7 separate regions of the Homo sapiens genome follow, and all the other regions are linked to region 6. Evidence: promoter capture Hi-C in 16 types of primary human blood cells and fetal thymus (Javierre and others, 2016). All regions are on one chromosome and are shown on one strand. Each heading gives the region's core, a stretch centred on a gene start or on the middle of the fragment in contact. The rest is flanking DNA. Distances are from core to core; before and after follow the strand shown.

The links. The method cuts DNA at HindIII sites, captures the fragments that hold promoters and counts their contacts. A CHiCAGO score of 5 or more calls a contact.
Region 1: a contact is called between a fragment that was not itself captured here and the fragment with the promoter of SFMBT2 in region 6, in 2 of 17 cell types (M0 macrophages and M2 macrophages). The highest score is 7.7, in M0 macrophages.
Region 2: a fragment that was not itself captured here is called in contact with the fragment with the promoter of SFMBT2 in region 6 in 8 of 17 cell types (M2 macrophages, endothelial precursors, total CD8 T cells and 5 more); the score reaches 13.1 in M2 macrophages.
Region 3: a contact is called between a fragment that was not itself captured here and the fragment with the promoter of SFMBT2 in region 6, in 1 of 17 cell types (endothelial precursors). The highest score is 6.1, in endothelial precursors.
Region 4: a contact is called between a fragment that was not itself captured here and the fragment with the promoter of SFMBT2 in region 6, in 1 of 17 cell types (neutrophils). The highest score is 6.1, in neutrophils.
Region 5: a contact is called between a fragment that was not itself captured here and the fragment with the promoter of SFMBT2 in region 6, in 1 of 17 cell types (endothelial precursors). The highest score is 5.4, in endothelial precursors.
Region 7: a fragment that was not itself captured here is called in contact with the fragment with the promoter of SFMBT2 in region 6 in 1 of 17 cell types (erythroblasts); the score reaches 5.1 in erythroblasts.

The regions. Positions count from the first base shown.
Region 1 is chr10:6,654,731-6,658,147 of GRCh38, reverse strand. No RefSeq gene overlaps it. Among named protein-coding and RNA genes, the nearest start is that of LINC02648, 38 kb to the right of the region's middle. The HindIII fragment of the contact is 3,991 bases long and covers 1-3,326 here.
Region 2 is chr10:6,677,014-6,680,742 of GRCh38, reverse strand. No RefSeq gene overlaps it. Among named protein-coding and RNA genes, the nearest start is that of LINP1, 59 kb to the left of the region's middle. RefSeq lists a silencer at 2,294-2,452 and an enhancer at 2,112-2,613. The HindIII fragment of the contact is 809 bases long and covers 1,401-2,209 here.
Region 3 is chr10:6,729,045-6,732,618 of GRCh38, reverse strand. No RefSeq gene overlaps it. Among named protein-coding and RNA genes, the nearest start is that of LINP1, 6.6 kb to the left of the region's middle. The HindIII fragment of the contact is 231 bases long and covers 1,970-2,200 here.
Region 4 is chr10:6,571,836-6,575,216 of GRCh38, reverse strand. All of the region lies in intron 1 of PRKCQ (protein kinase C theta), which reads left to right. Among named protein-coding and RNA genes, the nearest start is that of PRKCQ, 6.8 kb to the left of the region's middle. RefSeq lists an enhancer at 3,038-3,207. The HindIII fragment of the contact is 1,165 bases long and covers 773-1,937 here.
Region 5 is chr10:6,711,625-6,715,023 of GRCh38, reverse strand. No RefSeq gene overlaps it. Among named protein-coding and RNA genes, the nearest start is that of LINP1, 24 kb to the left of the region's middle. The HindIII fragment of the contact is 428 bases long and covers 1,151-1,578 here.
Region 6 is chr10:7,408,636-7,412,570 of GRCh38, reverse strand. SFMBT2 (Scm like with four mbt domains 2) reads left to right here and starts at 1,537. Exons shown (of 21, transcript NM_001387889.1): 1 at 1,537-1,710. RefSeq lists enhancers at 1-367, 368-1,288, 3,640-3,719, 3,767-3,935 and silencers at 1,524-1,663, 3,880-3,935. The HindIII fragment of the contact is 4,872 bases long and covers 1-1,954 here.
Region 7 is chr10:6,776,676-6,780,412 of GRCh38, reverse strand. LINC00706 (long intergenic non-protein coding RNA 706) reads left to right here and starts at 1,233. Exons shown (of 2, transcript NR_108074.1): 1 at 1,233-1,302. It overlaps LINC00707 (long intergenic non-protein coding RNA 707), which reads right to left and starts at 815. Exons shown (of 5, transcript NR_038291.1): 1 at 526-815. The HindIII fragment of the contact is 1,230 bases long and covers 1,049-2,278 here.

The DNA.
Region 1 (3,417 bases), core at 82-2,581, 750 kb after region 6:
AGGCTACTGCCATGAACATAGTGCTCCTTCATAAGTGCTAGCTATCGTAGTAATAATTAATATTATGCTCATACCGATACCATAAACTAATCATCACTTTCCTCATAATTCTTGTTAATATAGGCAATATGAGAAAATAAATAACTTAAATGAGAATATGATCAATGTTCACCAGCCACTACAACCATTGCAAGAATAGCTAGTAACTCACGGACTGGGTGGATGGAGAGTGAACTACACAAATAAGGTGAGGACACAAGGAGAGAAGTATTCTGCTGAATTAGCAGATATTTTCCCTAAGTGAAAATTTTGGAAATGGATGGAAACTATAACCAGTTGAATTTTCAGAGTAGGATTGTGAGGCTGAGTAACATTTTCCAAACATTTTTAATCCATATTTGGTTGAATCCACAGATGTGAAATCCACAGATATGGAGGATGACTGTGTGTTTAAATAGAATAAATATGTTAATTAGTTGGATTTATTTATTTATTTTTTAATTCTCAGATGGTACTTGGACTGGGTCACTGGTCACTAGCTTAATTTTTGATACCTAGGGAAATTTTCTCACACAGGCACAAGACTGTAAAGAAGTCAGTGTTTATCCTCAGATGCAACACCAATTCCACTTAGCAGAAGGTCCCTGGATTTCAAAAGAAGGAAATGAAGTATCTTGGTTTGATGAGGGGAAGTCACCGACTATAAGAAGGATGCCAAGTATTTTGGATTGATAAGCAGAAGTTGATGAAGAAAACAGAACGAATTCAGAAGAACTATGATCTTGTCCTGTGGTTTTTCTCTGACTTTATAAAGACCTAGGCTTCATATCTTTGCTTCTATGGAGACCAGATGCCTCATTTCCAACATGAAGGGCTTGATCAGTTGATCTCTGTGTTCCTTTCTCAGAGGTCTAATGTTCTACAATTAAATGCCAGTCAAGTCAAGAGCAGGCATCTCAGATTCTTCAGAATAACCACCATGAAAGGAAAAGAATGGAGAGAAGAAGAGGAGTGACTGAAGGAATAAACATTCTGCTTTCTGAAAGGGCTGAAGACACTTGACAACATAGCAATTAATAAAAGGACAAAAGAGATCTGGGAGCAGAGTTTTCATGTTTGAGTAGACGGACTCAGCAGGAGGGTTAAAAGATGGACAAGGTGGGCAAGTCACCAATGAGAAATGTAAGGTGGGGGGGTGGGTATGGTGTTGTGCAAAGGGCATGGGATTTGGGTCCTAAAACCTGTTTGAAGTCATTCACTAATTTATATAACTGTGGGTAAGCCACCCATGTTTCTGAGCCTTATTTCCTCATATGTAAAGTGTGAACAATATTTGTACTAGATTCCCGAGGATTCACATAGGATCCTTCAAATGATACATAATAGTAAATTAATTAATATATCCTGCACCTAGTTTCTGCCCACAAATTTCTTTTTGGATGCAATCTACAAAAACACAGAGTTATCTTTATCCCTCGAGTTTTGTCCCTGAAGTTATCCCTGGAGTCTGGCAGAGAGGCACAACAAAGGTCATCTCCTAATCCCTTCCCTTCTCTGTCCAGAAGTCTACAAAATCCCCCTCAAAACCTACAAATATTGTAAAGCCTTACCAGTAAAACCTACTGTGATAAATAGAAGCCACACAATTTACTCATATAAAATGCAAGTTCACATTATATGAGCTAAATGAAATGAACTCAGTAGCCTTCAGAGTATTCCACTGAGGGTTCTGATCTGTCCCAACAAAAATCCCAGCTGTACTTTGGCACACATGGTGAGTGTTACCTTCTCCTGCTTAAATATTGATGGAGATGATTCTGGGCTCTGTGGCTCAGCAGCTCCAGGGATCTTCTGTTCATTTGCATCTTGAGAAGATTGGGCCAGGAGACTATGGTGGCTGGGAGGATACATCCTCCTCCTGCCCTCTTTCCAAGATGGGCTTGTCTGTTTCATCCTTCCCTCCACATTCCCCTCCTAGGTCAGAAGATAAGAACTTTCGGAATCATTCTCCCCATTTAAGAATGGGGGCTTGGCAAGGAAGAGATCCAATCACTAATTTTAATGTGATATTGGGATATTTTACTGTAACTCCCAAATCTGAAAAGCATCCTATCAATGAGTGTTTGTGTTATCTACTATTTTAACTGATAAGGGCTGAATTCTGTCTCCCCAAAATTCATACGTTGAAGTCCTAACCCCCAGTACCTCAGTATTTGGAGACAGCACCTTTATAGAGGTCATTAAGTCCAAATGAGGCCAGTTAGGATGTGTCCTGATCCAATATGACTTGTGAATTTATAAGGAAAGGAGATCAGGACACACAGAGGGATGCCAGAAATGCACACAGAGAAAAGACCATATGAGGTCCCAGGGAGAAGGTGGCCATCTGCAAGCCAAGAAGGGAGGCTTCAGGAGAAACCAACCCTGCCAGCACCTTGATCTTGAACTTCCAGACTCTAGAATAGTGAGAAAATAAATTTCTGTTGTGTAAGCCATCCGGCCTGTGGTATTTCGTCATGGCAGGCCTGCATCAGTCCATGTTTGCATAGCTATAAAGAAATACCTGAGACTGGATAATTTGTAAAGAAAAAAGGTTTTGTTGGTTCACAGTTCTGCAGGCTGTCCAGGAACCACGGCACCAGCATCTCTTCCTGCTGAGGCTCCGAAAAGTTCCAGTCATGACAGAAGGTAGAGGGAGAGCTGGTGTATCACATGGCAATAGCAGGAGCAAGGGGTGGGGGAAGATGCCAGGCTCTTCTCAATAACCAGATTGCACATGAACTAACAGAGCAAGAACTCACTCATTGCAATGCGGATGGCCCAAGCCATTCATGAGGAGTCCACCCTCATGACACAAACACCTCTCACCAGGCTCCACCTCCAACATTGGGGATTACATTTCAACATGAGATTTGGAGGGGACAAACATTCAAACCATATCACAGCCCCGGTGGACTAATATATTAACCAAGTGATAATGGTAACCTCTAGTGAGGGAAATGGACAAAATGGAGAAAGAAACCCACATTGCTGAGTCTTATGCACCTTCTCCTTCCCTATTCCTTAAATAATGGAGGCTAACTCTTCCCGATGGGAGTTAAGGCTCAGAGAAACACACTGATTTGAAGAAATTATTCAAAGCTCAGGACAGCCTTTCTGCACAGGAATGGTTACAATAGGCCATTCTATCAGTTATCTATTACTGCTTAACAGAGTGCCCCAAACTGAGCAACTAAAGCAACAAGTGTTATCTCACAGTTTCAGTGGGTCAAGAGTACAAGACTGGCTAATCTCACTGGTACTGGTGCAGGGTCACTCATGAAGCTTCAAGCAACCTGTTAGCTGGAGCTGCAGTGCCATGAAGTTCCTGAAGCTGTAGGCTCCAGTTCTAAGCTCACTCACATGGCTTATTTCCTC
Region 2 (3,729 bases), core at 556-3,055, 730 kb after region 6:
TAAAAACATTCAGTGCCGAGAAAAGGCACGTGTTGACCAACGTATGGGGAGGCTAGAAAAGATGGGAAAAGAAGCCATTCTGTCATCGGTCATAACCTTCCAATATCATTTTATCTCAGCAGATAATGGAACAGGGAAAGCCAGGTTTTTCAAAGCCATAAAGTAAAGCTTTAGTAGCTGAATGACAACTAAATTGCTGTCGGGGTGGTTTAGCACAAAACAAGCCACTACTGTTCTCTGTTAAAACAGTTCCTGAGATTTGCAAGCCAAGGAATCCAAAATCACCCAAGCAGTCAACATGACTTAAAGATTTTCCAGTAGTTTCAGGGCCCATTAAATTTATGTAATATCTACAATATCAACTATGAAAAAAATGTTTTGTATTCATGGATAAAATGTAAGTGGCTACTTCTCCAGAAAAGAGTATATGTCTTTTCTACCAGAAACTTCAGCTTTTTGAAGCAATGGAGAGTTTCACAGTGGGGGGGTCTGGCGGCATGGGACATCTTAAACTGGTTATTTCAAAGGTATTTTTTTCTTTCTCAATGTGATCATGGCACTAGACTTTAGATATAAATCATAAGAAGCACATGTCGAATTTGACATTGGTAAACAAAAGTAACCATTGAGCCCCTAGGAGTTAGAACATTTTCTTGGCAGGTTAAAGGTAAAAATGTGTTCTTTAAAAGAAAGATCCAGATGAAAGTATTTGTCATTAAACTTTCACTATTTCTCTCTCTCTCCACACACACACACACACACACACAGTTATCGATCTATCGCTTCTTCTATCAAGTGTATTTCTGAGAAATAGTCTAAGAATATCTAGCTTAGCAATTCTTTTCAGTAATGAAGCTTGTGTAGAAGAAGAGGTATGTGTGATGTGAATTCTAGACTATTCTAGAAGACTATGAGCTTTTTTCTGAATTTCAAGAAATCTTGCTATCTTTTCTTGATGAAATTAACCTATATACCACTACCCTGTATTTTCTGTGGAGCTAAGATAATAAGGTCCTCAAGTTTTCATTTCCCAATAATTTTTCTAATTTCTTTTGTTTCATTTTGATGCCAGGACCCACGAGACTGAGAGAATTAGCTATTGAACTTTTCAGAGAGCTCAGTTGTTTTTGTTTTTGCTCAAGTTGTTTTCCCCCATCACCTAGAAGGCATTTAGACCATCCCTTCCCCTCAGCTATGCCCACATTTCTGACTCTCTAAACAGGTGGATATTCCAGAAGTGTAAACCCGTCTTAATGGCCCAATAATTCTCTAGATGTGTGGACGCAGAGGGAACAGAGAAGGGTCATATGCTTCCTAAATTCAGGACTAGCCATGTGACTTTTCCTTATGGTGTCTTGATTTGATTATATAAATAAAACAAGCGGAAAATCCAGAAAGCTTTTCTCCAAGCCACACTTTCATAGTGTAAATATCAGGCCTTAAGCAGAATGAGATGCTCACAAAATGTCAGATCTATTTATGGGAGGAGTTTTTAGGGTAAATAGAGCAAAATGAACACTCAGATGACTGGCAAGGAAATAAAGCATTGTAGGACCTACATAGTTCAGATGGCACTTTAAGTGGCCAGGAGATGGTGCCAATTTGCCAAACATTTAAGTGGTTATAATTTCAGGCTGTGAAAAATAATATCTTCTCTTTTAACTCAAGAGGGCCAGTACTTTTATGGTGTTTATTATACCCAAGGGACAACTAATTTCATAAAACCTAAGGTAGGAATGAAGAAAAGACAAAAAAAAAGTCAAGAAAAGAAAGAAAACAAGAAAACAAAGAATGAAAAGGAAAATAAATAAGATAAAGAGTATAAAATGTGGAAAAATAAAATATAAAGAAATGTAAGGATGAAAGAGAGGATAATTGTAAAGTTGCCTCTGAAATCTGAAAGAGCGTGATCCCCTATCTGTGCAGAACAGAGTTGAAGAAACAGAACAATTGTGACTAATTCTTATTATGATTATGCACATTCAAAATGCCGAAGATAAAAACTACATAATTTCAAACACTTTTTCTGTTTCAGAGTTTTGCTGAAAGTTCCTTAGGCATTTGTGTCTATGAGCAATTCCAAAATTCTATGTTGCAATATAATAAGCTCAGAATTTTGTATATGGCAGGGGTGTTAGGAAAGATTTGATCTGAACTCCTCATTGTGCAGATAAAGAAACTAAGGAAGATTTTCCCAGGTCCAGAAGCTTGTTTTCCCTTCATTTCCATGCAACAGGAACAAAGGAGAATGTGGGCAGATAAAGAAACTAAGGAAGATTTTCCCAGGTCCAAAAGCCTGTTTTCCCTTCATTTCAACGCAACGGGAACAAATGAGAGTGTGGTAATGGAGCCAGAAGGGGGCGCATGATGATCGCTGATGACGAATTTTGACGGTGCAATCTGGATGTTAATTTCGCTGACCTTGAAGTCAGGGTGGCCTACTTGCAGCATTGTTCTATATAACTTCAGCCTCAAATTGAAAACCATACATATTTCGTGGTAGGCATCTTGCTTTTAGAAATTTGATGTAGGGAGGGACAACTTCATGGATTTCTAAAGCAAGGTTTGTTTTACAGGCCCAATTTCTTCCTTTCCCAAGCCAACTAATCAAACATGCTTTTGAATGTATTTGCTGGATTCCAAAATATTTCAGACACTTATTTATAAAGGAATGATTTTAAAATAGGATCCAATTTTTGTTCTGTAAATGTTTAAACTGAATATTTCCTAAGACCATCGGCTTGTTTTCAATGAATTTTTTTGCAAAGGGAATGTTTAAAGTGTTTTTAAAACCTCAGAGTTAAATCATTTTCAAAACTTGTTTCCTGGGAAAGTTTTATTTGTTAGTACCCAAAGTTTTTCTACACATTGCATAAGCTGACCAATTCTTCTCCACATATACCAGGCTAAGAGAAGTGAATAAAAAGGCCATCACAGTGTCCATTTTTTCCATGACAAAAATAACACATGCTCAAAAAAGTTTAAAAATGTAGAACTATAAAAATTAGAAAAATGTTCTTTATAACAATCACTATCAACATTTAGCTATATTTTCTTTAGGGGCCTTTTTAAAAAAACAATTCTCCAACCTCCACTGTTTGTCTAAAATTGTCATAAAAGAATTTTATTATTATTATTACACTTTAAGTTCTAGGGTACGTGTGCGCAAGGTGCAGGCTTGTTACATATGTATACATGTGCCATGTTGGTGTGCTGCACCCATTAACTCGTCATTTACATTAGATATATCTCCTAATGCTATCCCTCCCCATTTCCCCCACCCCACGACAGGCCCCGATGTGTGACGTTCCCTACCCTGTGTCCAAGTGTTCTCATTGTTCAATTCCCACCTAAGAGTGAGAATATGTGGTGTTTGGTTTTCTGTCCTTGCAATAGTTTGCTCAGAATGATGGTTTCTAGCTTCATCCATGTCTCTACAAAGGACATGAACTCATCCTTTTTTATGGCTGCATAGTATTCCATGGTGTATATGTGCCACATTTTCTTAATCCAGTCTATCATTGATGGACATTTGGGTTGGTTCCAAGTCTTTGCTATTGTGAATAGTGCCACTATAAACATACGTGTGTATGTGTTTTTATAGCAGCATGATTTATAATCCTTTGGGTATATGCCCAGTAATCAGATGGCTGTCAAATGGTATTTCTAGTTCTAGATCCTTGAGGAATCGCCACACTGTCCTCCACAATGGTTGAACTAGTTTACAGT
Region 3 (3,574 bases), core at 836-3,335, 680 kb after region 6:
GTCTATTATGGGCTCTATGTGCAGATATTTATGCTGCCTTTAAAAAGTCTTTCATGCGTTATGTACTTTAAACTTCTTAAATGAATACATTCCCATTCAAAAATTTTTCAAATGTCCTAATCTTCGGAGCTCACGTGTGTTTAGAATTAACTGCTCTGTGACTCCGCTGGGCCTCTTATAGTTTAAGATATCTAGAGGGGGTGGCTGTAAGGAAAATACAGTTTTTATCCTTACAAACTGGTCTAAGTGAGAAGTGCTTTTCAAACATATCCACCTACCTGGCAAAATCTTAACACCTTTCAAATTCTAACTCATGTAAAAAATAGGTTGTTTTTTAGCCTGGACTAGAGGAGAGCCATGTTTTCATTTTTCAACAAAGGATAGAGTCCTAAATCCTGTCATTTGCAACAACATGGATGGGCCTAGAGGATGTTGTGCTAAGTAAAGCAAGCTGGCACAGAAAGACAAATACCACAGGGTCTCACCAACATGTGGAATCTAAAAAAGTCCAATTCAGAAGGACTCAGGTGGGTGCCAGAGGCTGTGGGGAAGAGATGGAGATAAAGAGATGTTGGTCAAAGTGTGCAGAGTTTTTGTTAAAAGGAGTAAGTTTTTGAGCTCTATGGCATATCGTGGTGACCATAGTTAATGATAATGTAATGTACATTTCAAAATTGCTAAAAGGGTAGATTTTAAATGTTTGTACCATAAAACAAAAGCATGTGAGTTTCTGGATATGTTAATTAGTGGGATTTAATCATTCCAAAATATACACATATATCAAAACATCATGTATATAATATATGCAATTATTATTTATGAATTAGAAATAAAATTTTCAGAAAACGGACAGAGTCCCGGGCAGGTCACTCTCTCAGCATGCAGAGAGGAGAGGCACCGTCAACGTCTGACCTTGATGGACCTTGAGGTCCCATCCATCCTTGTCTGAAGAGAAGGTGAGGCTCACAGGGCTCTCCGTATTCATCAGCCTCAGGTAAGACTTGTTTTTTTGTTTGTTTGTTTGTTTGTTGAAACAGAATCTCGTTCTGTTGCCTAGGCTAGAGTGCAGTGGCATGATCTCAGCTCACTGCAACCTCTCCCTTCTGGGTTCAAGCAATTCTCCTGCCTCAGCCTCTCCTGAGTAGCTGGAACTACAAGCATGCACCACCAGACCTGACTAATTTTTGTATTTTTAGTAGAGACGACGTTTCTTCATGTTGGCCAGGGTGGTCACAAACTCCTGACCTCAGGTGATCCGCCCACCTCAGCCTCCCAAAGTGCTGGGATTACAGGCGTGAGCCACCGTGCCCAGCTGGTAAGATGCTTCTTAAGGCAGAGAGAGACGAGGCAAAGGGCAAGGCAGTGGAATCAGGAGCAAGGTCTCTAGCGCCTTTCTGGACTGCATCAGTGACATCAGAGAAAGAAAACAAACTTCTGCCCATGCCAGGGAGCAAATAGGACCTCACATCACGGCCTCCGTGTTATCATGAGCTGGCCTGATGCTTCCAGCTAAGCCACGTGCTCTCCAGTTGGACAGAAATAATTTCCGAGAATGTCCACTCAGGCCAGATCATGCTAAATCCCACACATCTTCCACTCTTGCTAAGTAAGCAACTGCTGCATCTTTCCCAGTTCCAGCTTTGGTCTCCCTCTAGTCTGTCCTCCCTAGAGATGACAGATGTATTCAGATACCCCCTCACAGAATCACCCCTGGCCTCTGGCAACTCCCGACTAGAGAAAACCTCTGCTTCCTTAGACCCTCCCGAAAATCACCCAACCAAAGCCCAAGCCTGGTAGTAGGTCATTCCCAACATCTTCTTACTCTGAGACTTCCTGCAGTTCCCAAGCTGTGTGTGCTGTCTCACTGCAACTTGTAATAAACCCAACTTGTTCAACTACAGGTGTGTACCTGGTGGCTTTCGGCCACAGGGCAAGTGGTCAGTATGAGCTAAGTACCGTTCTCCAAGCTTGTTGAAATATTCTTTGCTGACTGACTACTGAACACTATCTATATCTGGAACCCCAAGCTATCTCAGGCCATACACAAGGTCAGGATCATGAGGTGATTCCACCCCTTCTGCTGCTGTTGTCCTCTGTCAATCACCTGCATCCAAAGCCATCTCCCGCATCACCAGTCAGGGATTTCCACAGCAAGCACATGTTCAATGAGCATCTACAGGCTAAGCTCCGGGCTAAAGCTTATGGAGAAAAGCCTTGCCCCTATATAATTTTGATTACCCACCAAGTACTAAATGTGGTGTGGACATAGTACACTTCTCATGTGGTCCCGAAAGCTTCCATCTGCAGAAAGTACAAGACGAACACATTCTAATAAACAGGAAGCTATGAACCAGCTACATCATCCATCAGCTCTTTCTTATCAGGGAATTGGCAGGATACATTAACAAAAGGGTAATTATTTATTAATGGTTACTTGAAACCTGGGCTTTCCACACCCGATTTCAAAACACACAGGGCCATTTATTTGAAGTGGTTTCCGGACTTTGATGGATTGAATATTCGCCCGTGCTGGCAAAGGCATACACACAGTGATGCTAACTAGAGTAACTATAGAAACTATCCTATCCTGATACAGCCTTAGAACATCTCTGAACAATCATCCGCATAAAGGAAACATCAAGGGAATAGAAAAACCATCTGGTCTCTATAGCTAGAACATTTGAACAGCTTGTAAAGGGAAAGAAATTGAAACCTCACAACAAAAAATCTGGCAGATGATAAACACAAGATTTTTGAGTTTATCAGCCAGTTGCTACAGACCAAGATCAATATACAAAGAAAGGACATGCTCATAACCCAGGACCTCCGACTGGAATGAAAAGACAGGCAGAAAAACCTGAAAGGTTTGAGGCTGATTACAGTTATACTACCCCGAGCCCACTACTCACAGAAAGCTATTTATTTTCTTTACAGATGATGGAAAATTCCAAACAGAATAAAATTATACAGAATGTTGCAAGAAAAAGCATTTCTTTGGGTGTTTCTAGCTCAGCTGCAAACAGGAGGTAGTGAAGTCCCACGAGGAAGGTGTGCTCTGTTGAAATGTCTAAGTCGATTGTGCAGTTTTGAAAGTCACTGCCAATCCAGAGATGATTTCAACCCAAGTTCTTTCGTGAAATAATAATTCCCAGCTCCTAAATAATTCCCAGCTCCTAAATCCCAGATCTGACTCTTTCTAAATGTGTCTTTTTCCTGTCTCTTCTTGCTCACCTCTTCTGTAGCCACAGGCAGTTTTCAGCCAACAGTTTGACTTCAACAAAGTCAGCAGCATCCTGAGTCAAACCTGGCTAGAGTCCCTCTACTCAGAGCAGTGTTGCATGGGTGTGTCACACAGATGTGCACAGTCACCCAGACCACAGGGCTTCTCTGGAATCTGGACGGGAACTTGGCTAGGGCTTGACCTGCTTCGGTTCACCACCTCTCTGCCTAGCCCTTTTCTATGGAATTTCCATCTGCTTCTCTACAGCAATGACTTGAAAACTGGCAACATAAGATACTAGCAACTCATTACTGAATAGGGCATTTTAATGTCTTTCAAAGTCCTTCTAAAGCC
Region 4 (3,381 bases), core at 106-2,605, 840 kb after region 6:
AGATGTGGTCAGGCAAATAGGAAATTATAATGAATTGTGATGAATTCATGAGATATTTGTACTATTTTGTATCAGTTTATAATGTCATGCAACTCTGTTTTATATTTGCTAGTTTCCTTTCTGTCTCTTTTTTCCTCTAGCATGAAACTCCATGAGGGCTGGCATTTTGTCCCTACATGTGTCCCCAGCCACTCTAACAGGGCCTGACACATACCAAGTTGTGAACAAATATGTGCAGAATGATTGTGTGTTTCAGTAGGGGACACACTTGGTATTATGTGCACAGCTAGATTTGGGGTGTCGCAGAGCTGTCAGTGACGGCTCAACTGAGACCTGAAGGGGAAGTGGCAGTGAGCCAGATGGGGGTTCTGGGAGGTAGGAACAGTGTTTGTAGAATGTCCCTGCAGCATGTGAGTCTGGAATCCCAGTGCAGTCCAGTCTAAGCCTTGCAGATGAGTGGAAATGAGCAGAGTAAGCATCACAGCTTCCATTTAAACCTCTGCTCCCCATCCTAATTTGCCATATGACCTTAACCAGTGAACTTCTTGGAGTGTCATTCTCTCCATTTGCAAAGTGAAGAAAATTGTGATCTCTGATAGCAGTGATGCTGCGAGAAAGGAGCATGTGCCAGTGTGTGGGCTATTGCTGGGTGGAGCTGGAGGAGTCAGCTGTGCCAGATCACATAGGACCTGTAAGCAGGTGAACCATATACGTTATCCTCCAGATGGGGACTGTTTATAGAGTGAAAGAGCACGTTATTAATCACTAAGCTTGGGTAACAGGTACAAACCCAGATTGTCCTGGGCAGACTGTCCCGTAGAGTTGTCCTGCGTTAAGTCATACGAAGGAGTTTGATCCTTTTCTAAGAACAGGAGGAACCCTTTAAATGCTTTATCTACCAATGTATACAAGTGCCATTCAGGTTCTCTCCAGCGTTTCAGAGAGTTTTACCTGCCCATGAACTCACAGCACTCGGCTTGCACTGCAAACTCACCTATACGTTGGCAGCTGTCTCCTCACTGGGCACTTAATTCATGAACAACTAGGAGGGAAAGACAACAAGACAGCCAGGGGTCTGCTCTTTGGCTCTTTGCATTTTTTTTTACGGGGTCTTGCTCTGTCGCCCAGGCTGGAGTGCAGTGGCACGATCTCAGCTCACAGCAGCCTCCGCCTCTGAGGCTCAAGGGATCCTCCGGCCTCAGCCTCCTGAGTAGCTGGGACTACAGTTGCATGCCACCATGGCCTGGCTAGTTTGTGCACTTTGTAGAGATGGTGTTTTGTCATGTTGCCCAGGCTAGTCTCTAACTCCTGGGCTCAAGTGATCTGCCCGCCTTGGCCTCCCAGAGTGCTGAGATTAAAGACATGAGCCACCACACCTGGCCTAGCTCTTTTCGCCTTTAACTGGAGTGTTAGCTGATATCAAGAACACATCTTTTGGGTTTTTCTTTTTTTAACCTTGTAACACCTAAAGGACTGCGGCTAAGTGTTAAAAGAAAAAAATTTCTATCTGGTGGTTTAAATATCTGCAGAAGCAGAATCCTTGTCATCCTGAAATTTTTTCCCTGTGGGCAAGAATTCCTAATAAGCGTACAATCTATTGGAAAAATCAAAAAGTAAACAAACTATGGCAATATATTCTAACATGTATTGACTTGTCACTATCGGCCGTTTGCTGTGCTAAGCACTATATGTAGATGATTGCTTGGGTGCTTTGAGAACATGTAGAAGGGAACCAAGTCCTGATTCGGAGGTTCAGGAAAGGCTTTCAGAGGACAAGGTATCGCGGGTGGGGATGGAAGATGTATGGGAATTAGCCAAAAGGACAGGGGTTCAGAGGTGAGCCAAGTCTGTCCTGAAAGTAAGCAGAAATGTTGTTGTTCTTGTCGTTTTGAGAGAAGTTCATCTCAGCTGTGTTCAGCATTTTTAGGGCATAAGCTTCAACATTTTCCGTTCTGTTTTCACTGATATGTTTTAGCTATACAAAAGCAGGCCTTCTACACAGTTTTTCAAACTCCAAGACACAGTCTACTAGTGGGCAATGACATTAATTTTGGGGGTGATAACAAGCATGAAATAGAATAAAACAGAAAATATTAAGATGCATTTCATGTAGGAAGGGTAATTATTTCATGAAACTGTATCATTTGGTTTGGGACACATTAAATCTGTTCGTACCTAAAAGAAGACATTCATGCAGCCAACAAACATGGAAAAAAAACCCTCAATATCACTGATCATTAGAGAAATGCAAATCAAAACCACAATCAGTTACCATCTCCTGCAAGTCAGAATGGTGATTATTAAAAAATCAAGAAACAACAGGTGCTGGCAAAGTTGCAGAGAAATAGGAACGCTTTTACACTCTTGGTGGTGGGAATGTAAATTAGTCCAACCATTGTGGAAGATGGTGTGGCAATTCCTCAAAGATCTAGAACCAGAAATACCGTTTGACTCAGCACTCCTGTTACTGGGCATATATCCAAAGGAATATAAACCATTCTGTTATAAAGATACATGCACACGTATGTTCATTACAGCACTATTCACAATAGCAAAGACATGGCATCAACCCAAATGCCCACCAATGGTAGTCTGGATTAAGAAAATGTACATACACACCATAGAATACTATGTAGCCATAAAAAGGAATGAGATCCCTGTCCTTTGCAGGGACATGGATAGAGCTGGAAGCCATCATCCTCAGCAAACTAACACAGGAGCAGAAAACTGGACACCTTATGTTCTCACTTATAAGTGGGAGCTGAATAATGAGAACATGTGGACACAGGGAGGGGAACAACACACACTGGGGCCTGTCGGGAGGTGGGATTGGAGGGAGGGAGAGCATTAGGAAAAGTAGCTAATGCATGTGGGGCTTAATACCTAGGTGATGGGATGATAGGTGCAGCAAACCACCATGGCACGTTTACCCATGTAACAAACCTGCACGTCCTGCACCTGTATCCCAGAACTTAAAATAAAAATAAAAATTAAAGAAAATTACATACCTATGGCATTTAGTTTTCTATACCATTCCTTTAAGTCATAGAATCAGATGAGCTCAGGGGCTAGAAGGAAGAGGGAGCGATGGGAAGGCAGTCGTTGGTCATGCCCTGGGCCTGGATCGCGGGAATCAGTCATTCAGAAAGCCCCATATGTTGGGTGGGTCTCACAGCTTACAGAGAAGCCAGCTGAGGTGTGCAGGTTAAGAAACTTGATCTAGGGTCACAGATTAAATTACTAGCGCTGACCCCTGATCTCTTGGCTTCTGATGTGGTGGTATTCTTTCCATACCTCCAGGGACTGTGTTCCCAAAGTTTGTTAGTTAGGTGGCTGTTTAGGGAAGGACCACACCTGGTTCCTGTTTGTTTGTTTCTTGGT
Region 5 (3,399 bases), core at 115-2,614, 700 kb after region 6:
ACCGAGCAAATTGAGGTTCCCACAGATCTCCTGAGAGCTGATCAAAATTAAAATTCTCATTTCTGGGCTAGCAGGCTTTCTTTTGTTCCCAGGTAAGTCTTGGAATTTTCTGGAGAACTTCTGACAGGAGAACTTCTTGGCAAATGACCATTTTGTTCAAAAAATAAACTAGAGCTATTTTTTCTTCTATGGCATGCAAGAAACAAGTTGCCATAAAGAGAGCAAGAGCTTACCCTGGTTAAATCAAGGACGTTGGGGAAGGTGTCATCTCTGTGTCAATACCATGGCTTGGGCGTCAGAGACTCGACCAGGGAATTCCGTATATCCATGTTTTGCGGTAAGAACAAACACGAGACTAAAGTGTACATTCTTGTTTCTTCATTTAATAGCTTTTTAAGGTAGGTAAATTAACTGGACAGGTGCCTGAGTTTTTTTACACCAGTTAAAAGAAAATAATAATATCCACCAACAGGGCTGTCCTGAGAACAAATGTGCTGTGTAGACTGTAAAGTCACATTTACAACTAAGGTATTAAAATCCTTCCTCAGGCCGGGTGCAGTGCCTCACACCTGTAATCTTAGCACTTTGGGAGGCCTGGGCAGGCAGATCACCTGTGGTCAGGAGTTCGAGACCAGCCTGGCCAGCATGGTGAAACCCCATCTCTACTAAATATACAAAAATTAGCCAGGCTTGGTGGCATGCACCTGTAATCCCAGCTATTCAGGTAGCTGAGGCATGAGAATCGCTTGAGCCTGGGAGAAGGAGGCTGCAGTGAGACAAGACTGCACTACTGCACTCCAGCCTGGGCAACAGGAGTGAAACCCTGTCTCTCAAAATAAAATAAAATAAAATAAAATCCTTCCTCAAAATAGCTAATGGATGCTAGGCTTAATACCTGGGTGATGGGGTGATCTGTGCAGCCAACCACCATGGCACATTTATCTATGTAACAAACCTGCGCATCCTGCACATGTACCCCGGAACTTCAAATAAAAGTTGAAGGGTGGAAAAAAACCACTTCCTCGTTCTGGTCAAAATAGTGATGGAGAGAGTTAAGGGACCAGGTTCAACACATTCGTCCGGAAAACATCTCGACCCAGAAACTTCCTTTCATTGGCTGGGAGCTGTCCGAGGTGCTCTGGTTGAAGCTTCATGAGTTACTTCAAGACCTCCCTCACAGTAGTGCTGCCATTTAACAGTGTAGGCAAAAGGGCCACAACCTTGGTTTGAGTTATTCAGTCTCTACCCAGGTAATCTTTGGCAAGTTACTTCATGCCTCTAATCCCCTTTTGCTGGTAATTGTTTTACCATTAATGTCTCTGATCCCCATTTGCAGACATGGCTGGTAATACCTACCTTAAAGTACTGCTGAGAGGGAGAAATGAAAAGGCTTGGTATAAACCAAGGATTTGGTAAATATTCTGCCTTCATTATTACAAGAAAGATGAAAAAGAGAGGACAGATCTCCTGCCACAACTTCCACATTGGCAAAAATGACCCTGCATCCCACTGTTTTTATGGATAAAGGGGATGGGATCAGAGCCAGAGGTCTTTCCATGGACCTTGTGAGTCAAAGCTTCCCACAGAGTGGAACGAAGTTGCTGCCTGTATTTTCTTCCCTACACACGATTCACCAGTGCTTTAGATCTTCAGGGGCAACTCTAAGCTCTTGCTCCCTGTAGTGTGCTCAACTTCTAGGGCAGAACCATGGAGAGGGCTTCTTCCCTTCTTTCCGAAACTGTGTGGTAACCCCGTAAATGTGGGGACACATTTAATCAGTGTAGAAGCCCTCTTAGTGGCTATTTGGAGTAAAATGGAAAGGGGGCTGGGCTTGGTGGCTCACACCTATAATCCCAGCACTTTGGAAGGCCGAGGCAGGCAGATCACTTGAGGTTAGGAGTTCGAGACCAGCCTGGCCAACATGGTGAAACCTCATCTCTAATAAAAGTACAAAAATTAGTCTGGCGTGCTGGTGCGTGCCTGTAATCCCAGCTACTTGGAAGGCTGAGACAGGATAATCACTAGAACCCAGGAGGCGAAGATTACAGTAAGCCAAGATTGCACCACTGCACTCAAAAAAAAAAAAAAAAAAAGAAGAAGAAGAAGAAGAAGAAGGGTCTGCACACTTGAGAATAACAATATACGTGGGAAAATTAACACACGGATGGGCTCTAGCTATGGAATAAATTCCAGTTAAAATCTCTTCAATGTATCTAGGAAGCACACCCTAGAAAGATAGACTTTTCTGTACTAACCTTCTTTTTAATACTAACTTGGGTAGCAAAGATCCACTGCAGATGAATTAAGAAGGGAAGGTCTACAGTGAATGAACATCTTCAGCCTGGAAAGCCGCTGGAACGATCCTAGAATTAAAAAGCCAGCCTCCAGGGCAAACCACACCTAAGCCATTAGGAGTAAATGAGGGAAGAGTGCGGAAACAAGAGCAGAATTCAGCTCTCCTGGCTCTCAGCCCCTCTTCTGACCACTGAAATGAATTTCCCTTCAACCACAGAATAAAAAATAATTGGATTTCTCTAAGTCTTATTAAGGTGTAACTTGCAGTTCAGAAGAACCTGTATGTTTAACTTTATTCCTCGTCCAACCCAGAGGGACTAAAATGAAATAAAAGACTAAGACAACAATGCTGGAGCTGGGAGCTCGCTGCACCCCCTCCTCTCCCTGCACCCCTTTCCCTTCCCAGCACCCCTTTCCCCTCCCTGGACCCCCCTCTCCTCCTAGCACCCTCCTCCCCTCCCCACACCCTCCTCGTCTCCACGCACCCCCTTCCCCTCCCCGCATCCCCCTCTCCTCCCCGCACCCTCCTCCCCTCCCCGCATCCCCTTCCCCTTCTGCACCCTCCTCCCCTCCTCTCACCCCCCTCCCCTCCCTGCGCTGTAATTGCGCTTCGGTAGCAGATAAAGGGACGGAGAACACTGCAGCGCCGCCTGAATACAAAACCAAGGCCTCCTCTCCTCCTCCCATAATTAATCTTTTCTGCGTTCCGCAAGGACCATCCTCTGCAGTGTTCAGCATTTGGCTGGGACTTTGACGTTTTGTTATCGCCATCACTCTCTTTGTTTTTTGGAAAAGAAGAAAAACCCATCCGTGGCACATGGACCCTACACGGGGGCAGCATCCCATGTAAAATTCATGTAGCTCTCTTCCTCTAGCCACCTGAGCATCCTTTCATCCCTAAAGAACCCGGGAAAGGCAATGCCAAGCTGTATTCTTTCCTAGATGGCAGTCCCAAATATTCGTACTGATTCATGACGCAGATTACTCTTTAATGAGTGGAATACTTTTCTCAAGCCACCAAAAACATCGTGTGCATGCAGATACTGCATTTATGCACCGAAAGAAACCAATATTTCTGAACTCCTTTACCCTTCACTGATGTGG
Region 6 (3,935 bases), core at 288-2,787:
GTTCTCCAAGGTGTAAGGAGGCAGGATCTTCCCATACTGGCGGCGCAGGGGGCCTCACGGCTGCGGACGCCCGCCCTGGATCTCTCAGCTCGGCAGATCCTTTGGGTGGAGAGGCGCTCTCCAGGGTCGCGGCGAAGGAGAGCGGCTTCTCGGCACGTCCCTCCGTATTTCTTCTAGATCAGCTCCGGCCCCACCGTCCAGGAGAGGGCCCGCCTGAGGACCTCTGTCTGTGCCGCGCGTGGTCAGCCCCGGTCCCCTCACTCCATGGCTGGCCCCTAGCCCTTCAGAGCGGACACCTCTCCTTAGGGATGCAGGGCGAGGAAGGGCGGGTGGAGCTGCGAACCCACGGGGACCTGGAGGACCTCTTGGCCCCCTGGAGAGGGGTACTATGAGAGGGATTCATGGGACACAGATTTGGGGGACTGGGTAATTTTACCCCCTTTGGCAACCATAAAAACCCTGAGCAAACGTGTCCATTCGCTATTTCGCAGAAATATACAATGCAGGCCCACACAGGCATCTCTGCGAGGCCCCCTAGTTAAGGGCGCAGCGTTCTTCGGAAGCTCTTGGTCTTGCTACCAGGGCGTCACCGGCTTTTCCGCACTGGGGACATTTCGTTTGGGCTCTGCGCAGCCGTTGCACCTAAGGCCCTGGGAGCTCCGCGTTCCTCCCCAGGCGCCCGGGACAAAGTGCCCGAGGGCTCCGCAGACGTCCAGCCCTGCCCGGGGCTCACGGCCGCCGGGGCTCTCCAACGGACCGTCGAGGGCCACGTTTTGCTGGGGTGTGAGCGACGATTCTTTTCCCGCCCTATGAGGCCCGCCACTAGCTAGGTGCCCCATGAGACGCCGTGGCGAGCACGGCTACCTGGCAGCTCGCCCGGGCAGCCCCAACTTAATTTCCTGCCCCTCGGGGCACCTTTCCCTCGAATAGCTCTCCTCGGCCCCTCCAGCCCTGCCCAAGGGGCCTGGAAATGTTCGCAGCTTCAAGAAAGGCTCTATTTAAGCACAGGATGGGGTGGGGCGGGCGGGGCCAAGATTGCCCTGGGGATTGAATTTATCTCCGCTCCCAGCGATCCCCGGCGGATAAAGCGCAAGTTTGTGCACACGGTCGACTGAGCCATTGGAAACCCAGCTCACGAACCGCAGCCAGGGAAACGGGAGTTTGCCCAGTTGTCCTTGCGGAGGGGTGTGCGGAAACGCCCGCGATGGGAACTTTCTGCAGATCATGTATGGAGGGAGCTCACAAAAAGGAGGAAGGGGAGCGCGGTGGGGAGGAGGCCGCGTGGGCGTGGAAGGTCCCAGGGTCCTGGGGGTGCCCGCCTGCTTAGGCGCAGGGAATGGCGCGGAGCTGGCTGGGGAAGGAGCCGATCACGTCCCGCAGGCTAATTGGCTTAAGAAATTTTGCAAGCGCTGGAAAAGGTCGTTGAAGGAGTTCGCTGCACGCGCACGCACACACATACACACACACACAAAATCTTAAAAAAAAAAAAAAAAAAAAAAAAAAAAGAGCGCCGAGCATGCGCACAGAGAGGATGCCATATTGGAATGAGCTGTAGTGGGAGCCGGAGGACCGGAGCGGGCGCGCGAGGGAGGCGGCGGGCGGGGAGCGAGCGGGCAAGGGCGGGCGAGCGAGCAAGCGAGCGAGGCCGGTGCCCTCCCGGGCGGCGACCGGGGCCTGGGTCCACGCCGAGGGCAGGACGAACTTCACCAGGTAGGACGCCGCGCCGGCTGCTGTCCCCGGCGCCCAGGCTGGCCGGAGAGCAGCCCTTCGGCCCGCAGGTTGAGTGCGCTGGTCAGGGGCTTTTTCCAGCCTAGGAAAAAAAAGGAAAAAAAAAAAAAGGAAGGAAGCCTGAGGGAGCTGGGGTTGGAGGTGGCGGGTGGGGGAAGGCTGGGGAGGGTGCAGGGGAGCGAAAGAGAAGGGCAGGAGAAGAAAGCGACTGCACTTGAGCGAAGCTTCAAACTCCTCTGTGCGCTCCAGGTTGTCATTTTTGCTTCCCGGGTCCCCTTCGCCTGCGTCTCCGGGCTCGGAAAAGCCGAGCCGTGCGGGAGTCCGTCCGGAGTTGCAAAGTGTCCTCCTTCCCCGGGCGCAGCCTGTCCCCTCCCGCCGCCCACCTTCCTCGTTTCTGCACTCATTTTAGCGACGCAGCCGCCGCTGCTACCTACCCCGCGCTCCCGCGTCTCCTCCGCGCTGGGGTCTCCCCTTTCTTTTGGTTTGGGTGGGAGAAAAAGATGGTGAGGACGGGGAATCGGAGACCGGCATGGGGGTAAAAATCGTGCAGACATTCGGAATCGCTCCCTTGGAAACATTTGCCTGAGCAACTGAAATAAAATTGGCAGTAGTAGTTTTGGAGCGTGCTCCAGCGAGGATGGTCTTTTTGTTCATTATTTTCTCTTTAAAGTAATATCCTGTCACTTAGGGGCTTTCCGGTTGTCTCCTCTTATTCGACCCCCTTTCAAAATTGCTGACTTGAGCTGGTTCTGGAGTTTATTTTTTAATATGCGTGCGTGGGTATGTGTATGTGTGTGTATGTTTTGCAGAAATCCGCCAAAATGCAACTGTAGGAACTGCGAGATGTATTTATTGATTTTGACCAGGGGCGGTGGGAAGGGGCTGGAGGGAGCTGGGGGATCCTGGAGGGTGGGAAGTGGCTGATTCTCGGTGGCCGGACACTCATCCAGAGCCTGATCCGTACTCGTGTTTTCTTGGAAGCGCCACAACTGCGGGGAAGGAGTCTTTAGAAACCGTGCCAGTTTCAATATGGCGGGCTAAGGTGGCTTTTAAAAACTGAAAATAAAGGTTTTGAGGTGGGAAAAAACCCAGCTGAAGTTTCCACCCCTTAGTTTCGACTCTCTTTGGCTACCCCAGGAAGCGCTTTAGCGAATTAAGTGGGGAAAAAAAGAAGGAATGGGCTGTCCGGTTTTTTTTTTCCGTGGTTAGAGTCTGTGTGTCAAGTCCATTGCTAGGGGGGAAAGGGATGGAGAAGTGCCCCTGGCCCGGACCAGGGCACCGAAACGCAACTGTCGTGTGTGCCTGTGGATTAGTGTGCAGGCCTGCGTGTGCGCAGTTTTTTTGGGTGTGTGTGTCAAAGAGAACCACCCCGAATGTGTGTGTGCGTCTTGGAACCAGACCCTGCCATGATTTGACGTGACAAACTGCGGACACGTGGTGTAAAGTACATGAGGGCAGAGGGAGTGATTTATTTTGTCTTTCTAGGAGACGAGCTAGCTCTCGCCTTGTGTGTGCTGGATCCTGCGCGGGTAGATCCCCGAGTAGGTGGGGCGAGGAGGTGCTTATTAAAAGGACTAACTGTCCCGGGTATTGGGTGCAATCGGGCTGCAGACGCCAGCCGGATTTCGTGTGTGCAGGGGGCGCGCTGCACTTAATAGTGGGCTCCTGCTTTCCTCCACGCCGCTCTGGGGTGGGAGGTGGGGGACCGGGACCGAAGCTTGGAGAAGACCAAAGTGGTGGTGGTGGTGGTGGGGTGGGGCAGAAGGGCGGGAGCGCGCGGCTCTGGGAGACAAGCACGTAGGGTCGAGGCGAGGGGTTGCCTTCCTTACTTTTGGGTTTCGCGCTCTAGGGAAGGTGGGGGATGGGGACAGCGTTTGGGGAAGAAATTGTCCCTTGCTCGGCTTAGGAACCCTCTCGGCGCATCGGAGAGGGGCATCTTCTTGTCTTGGCGGGCATGGAGGCCGGGCAGTCGCCGGGGGATGTGAGTGGGCGGCGAAGTGCGGGGGAAAGGTCGGCGTTCCAGGGCGGGGAGGATCTGGGAGTGGAGTTCGGAGACAAAATCGGGGTCAGGCAGAGGAGCCAGAGGGAAAGCCAGCAAACGCGAGCTCGGGTGAGAGCCACCGGAATGCGGGAACGCAGCTTAGCCGGGAACAGGGTTCCCGACAGGGGTCGCCCGTGGCCAGGACGCGGCCGCTGAACAGAGGTCG
Region 7 (3,737 bases), core at 414-2,913, 630 kb after region 6:
CTCAGCCTTCTTAATTAGGAATGAGTATACTACAAAGGTGGGTAAGAAATGAAGTGGTGATGGCTGGTGGGGCTACTCAGTGAAGGCACAATCATGTCTTCCCCAGTGCTTTCTTCAAGGTCATAGAAGGACCCAAACACTAAACCAATCTTCTTCTTCAGGTGTTTCTCAGGGCTGGTGGTTCTTGGCAACTATGAGTTGCAGTTGGCCTCAAAGCCCTAAGATGCACCTGTTGCGTGTATGTATTTCAGGTTGAATCTCATACATGACAGATTCTGGAAGGCTTAACAAAGTCAGTGCTGGATAAAGGCAGCATGATGATACTGACTTTTCTGAAATTTTTTGTTGGTTATGGCCAATAATTAATATAAACCGTTCTCTTGCATTTAAGCCTGACTTAACTACTTCTGAGTTTTATTGTGGGATATAAAAATTAAAAATATTGTATTAGCATTCTCTAGAAGGACAGGACTAATAGGATAGATGCATATATGAAAGGGAGTTTATTAAGGAGTATTGACTCACATGATCACAAGGTGAGGTCCCACAACAGGCCATCTGCAAGTTGAGGAGCAAGAAAGCCAGTAAAGTCCCAAAACCTCAAAAGTAGGAAAGCTGATAATGCAGCCCTCAGTCTGTAGCCGAAGGCCTGAGAGCCCCTGGCAAACCACTCGGGGGGTAGGTCCAAGAGTCCAAAAGCTGAAGAACCTGGAGTCTGATGTTTGAGGGCAGGAGGCATCCAACACAGGGGAAAGATGAAGGTCAGAAGACTCAGGCAGTCTAGTCCTTCCACGTTCCTCTGCCTGCTTTATTTTAGCCACACTGGCAGCTGAGCTGGCAGCTGGGTGCCCACCCAGATTGAGGGTGGGTCTGCCTCTCCCAGTCCAGTGACTCAAGTGTTAATCTCCTTTGGCAACACCCTCACAGACACCCCGGGGCAATACATTGCATCCTTCAATCCAATCAAGTTGACACTCAATATTAACCATCACAAATAGTAAGCAAAAATGATAATTTTTACCATTATTATCTCAAAATTATGAAAGCTTTTATCTATAGCACTTCCAGTTTTTTAAAAGTGAGATTCATAAGACTGTGTTTACCCACCACACTGAATGCTACTGTCATGACTTGGCATGAAAAATAGCCACCCACTCAGAGTCCAGGAACACTGTGCCCTCCCCTGTGACGTCAACCTGCCTGGTTTATTCAGTGTGTGGCTGTTGCTCAGCATTCACCCAACAACATTTTTGATGCATGATGCATATGGTGCTAAATGCTGGGAATGCAAACCTGAGTAAGGTATTGTCCTAATTCCTGCCTAACGGTTTTCTGGGTTTCACTGGCTATGATTTCTGATCCCTCCCTCCCTCCCTCCCTCCCTCCTTCCCTCCCTCTCTTCCTTCCTTCCTTCCTCCCTCCCTCTCTCCTTCCTTTCTTCCATTTTTTTCTTCCTTCCTCCCTCTCTTCTTCCTTCCATTTCCTTCTTTCCCTCCCTCCTTCCCTGCCTTCCTTCCTTCCTTCTTCATTCTCTCCCTCCCTCCCACCCTCTTTCTTTCTTCCTTCCTTCCTTCATCACTCCCTCCCTCCTTCCTTCCTTCCTTTCTTCCTTCCTTCCTCCCTCTCTCCTTCCTTCCTTCCATTTCCTTCTTTCCTTCCTTCCCTCCCTCCCTTCCCTCCTTCCTTTCTTCCTTCTCTCTCTCCCTCCCCCCCCCCACCTACCTTCCTTCCTTCCTTCCTTCCTTTCTTCCTTTCTTCCTTCCCTCCCTTGTTTCTTAACCATTGCTTGTTAAGGGATGGCTCTGCACTGAATTCTGGTAATCACCGTGCTTTTCTTTTACTAAAGGTGGAACACAGGGGTGAATCGTTTAGGGCAACTAAGGGTATGTGGGAGAGGTTGATGCTTTCCCTCTCACAGGTGAGTCTCAAGCCTCCAAGGAAATGACAGAAATGCTTACAGATGGTTTTAGGCAGTGGTGCCTTATGGGGGGGTAAGTTTTTGCTTTCTTTTCCTAAGAAAAGAACAATCCAATCTGATTGCTTCCCAGTGTTTTGGAATTGGATTTGTGTTTTGCAGTGATGAACCTGGCCTTAAGGTAGGTGCGGGGTGAGCCCATTAGAGATAAAAGGTAAAACCAGAAATCCAGTGGACAGCCATCTGAAACCCGTTCAGCCTGAAGCACTTTTTTCTAGACTCAAGAGCATCGTTGTATCAATAGAAAAGGGCAAAGATGGTGAAACAAAGTCATGTATATCCATCCATGTGCTTTCTCAAGCTTTTTATGGGTATTTTCTACAACTTAGATGTGCCTTGTCCTCACCAAAACCCATGTGGAAGTTTCATTGCAAGAGACAGTGTTGGGAAGTGGGGCCCAGTGGGAGGTGTTTGGGTCATAGGGGTGGATTCCTCACGATAAATTGGTGCCGTTCTCAGGATAGTGAGTGAGTTCTTACTCTTGCAAGACTGGATTAGTTCTTGCAGAGATGGATTAGTTCCCTCAAGAGTAGGTTGGTATAAAACATGTCACCCTCCTTGGTCCCTTCCTTTTCACACATGCCTACCCCAGTTTTGACCTTCTGTTATGTTATGACACAGCAGGAAAGCCCTGGCCAGAAGCCAGCGCCATGCCCTTGAAATTTCCCACCTGCAGAACCATGAGCTCAATAGACCTCATTTCTTTCTAAACGACCCAGTCTCAGATACTCTGTTATAGCAACACTAAATTGACTAAGACAGTGTTATTTTGTAGAAGTAATGTAATCCCTCTGAAAAGAACATGGGATTCAGAGAAAAATGCCACAGCTCTTAGTCCAGTTTTGCCATGACCTAGTAGAATGAGATTGCTGATGCTAAAAATGTTGAAATAAAATCATAGTATAAAGGTCCTAAAACCACACCTGGCACGAAGTAGGCCCTGCACGAATGTTTGCTTTAGCTATGTGTTTTCTCACAAAGTAAATCTAAACTTTACTGAATTGCTGGGCGTGGTGGCTCACACCTGGAATGCCAGCACTTTGAGAGGCTGAGGTGGGTGGACCAACTGAGGTCAGGAGTTTGAGACCAGACTGACTAACACGGTGAAACCCCATCTCTACTAAAAATACAAAATTAGCCAGGTGTGGTGGTGTGCACCTGTAATCCCAGCTACTCGGGAGGCTGAGGCAGGAGAATCTCTTCAACCCAGGAGGCAGAGGTTGCAGTGAGCCAAGATCATGCCACTGCACTCCAGCCTGGCGACAGAGCAAAACTCCATCTCAAAAAATAAACAAACAAATAAATAAGAAAAAAATAAACTTTACTGAATCAATTTGTGTTCCTGTAAAGTGGAGAGAGAAATAAGTCCCCACTTGCCTGAGCAAAACACTTTGAAGATTAATTAAAGTAATGCATGGTAGTATATATGAAACCAGGATTCTTTGCTCACACAACATCCAAGAAGTACCAGTCTACAAAACAGATAGCCACGGGCTCTGCACACCGCTACCCCATTGCTGCTTGCTGCTTCCCACTGCCCATTCCTATTGTCACACCACAAGGGTAGAGGGGGACTTACAAACAACTGGTCTGGGCATAAGTATTCTTCAAGCCATAAAAAGTATGTGCATACATAAAACCATTCTGTAGATGCTCTCAAGAGCTAGCCAACAGGGTGACTCTGAGTCTTTAGAAAGAGTTAAGTGAACTTCAGCCTAACTTTCAAGAAAATATAACATAATTCACCAAAATGAGTAAAATT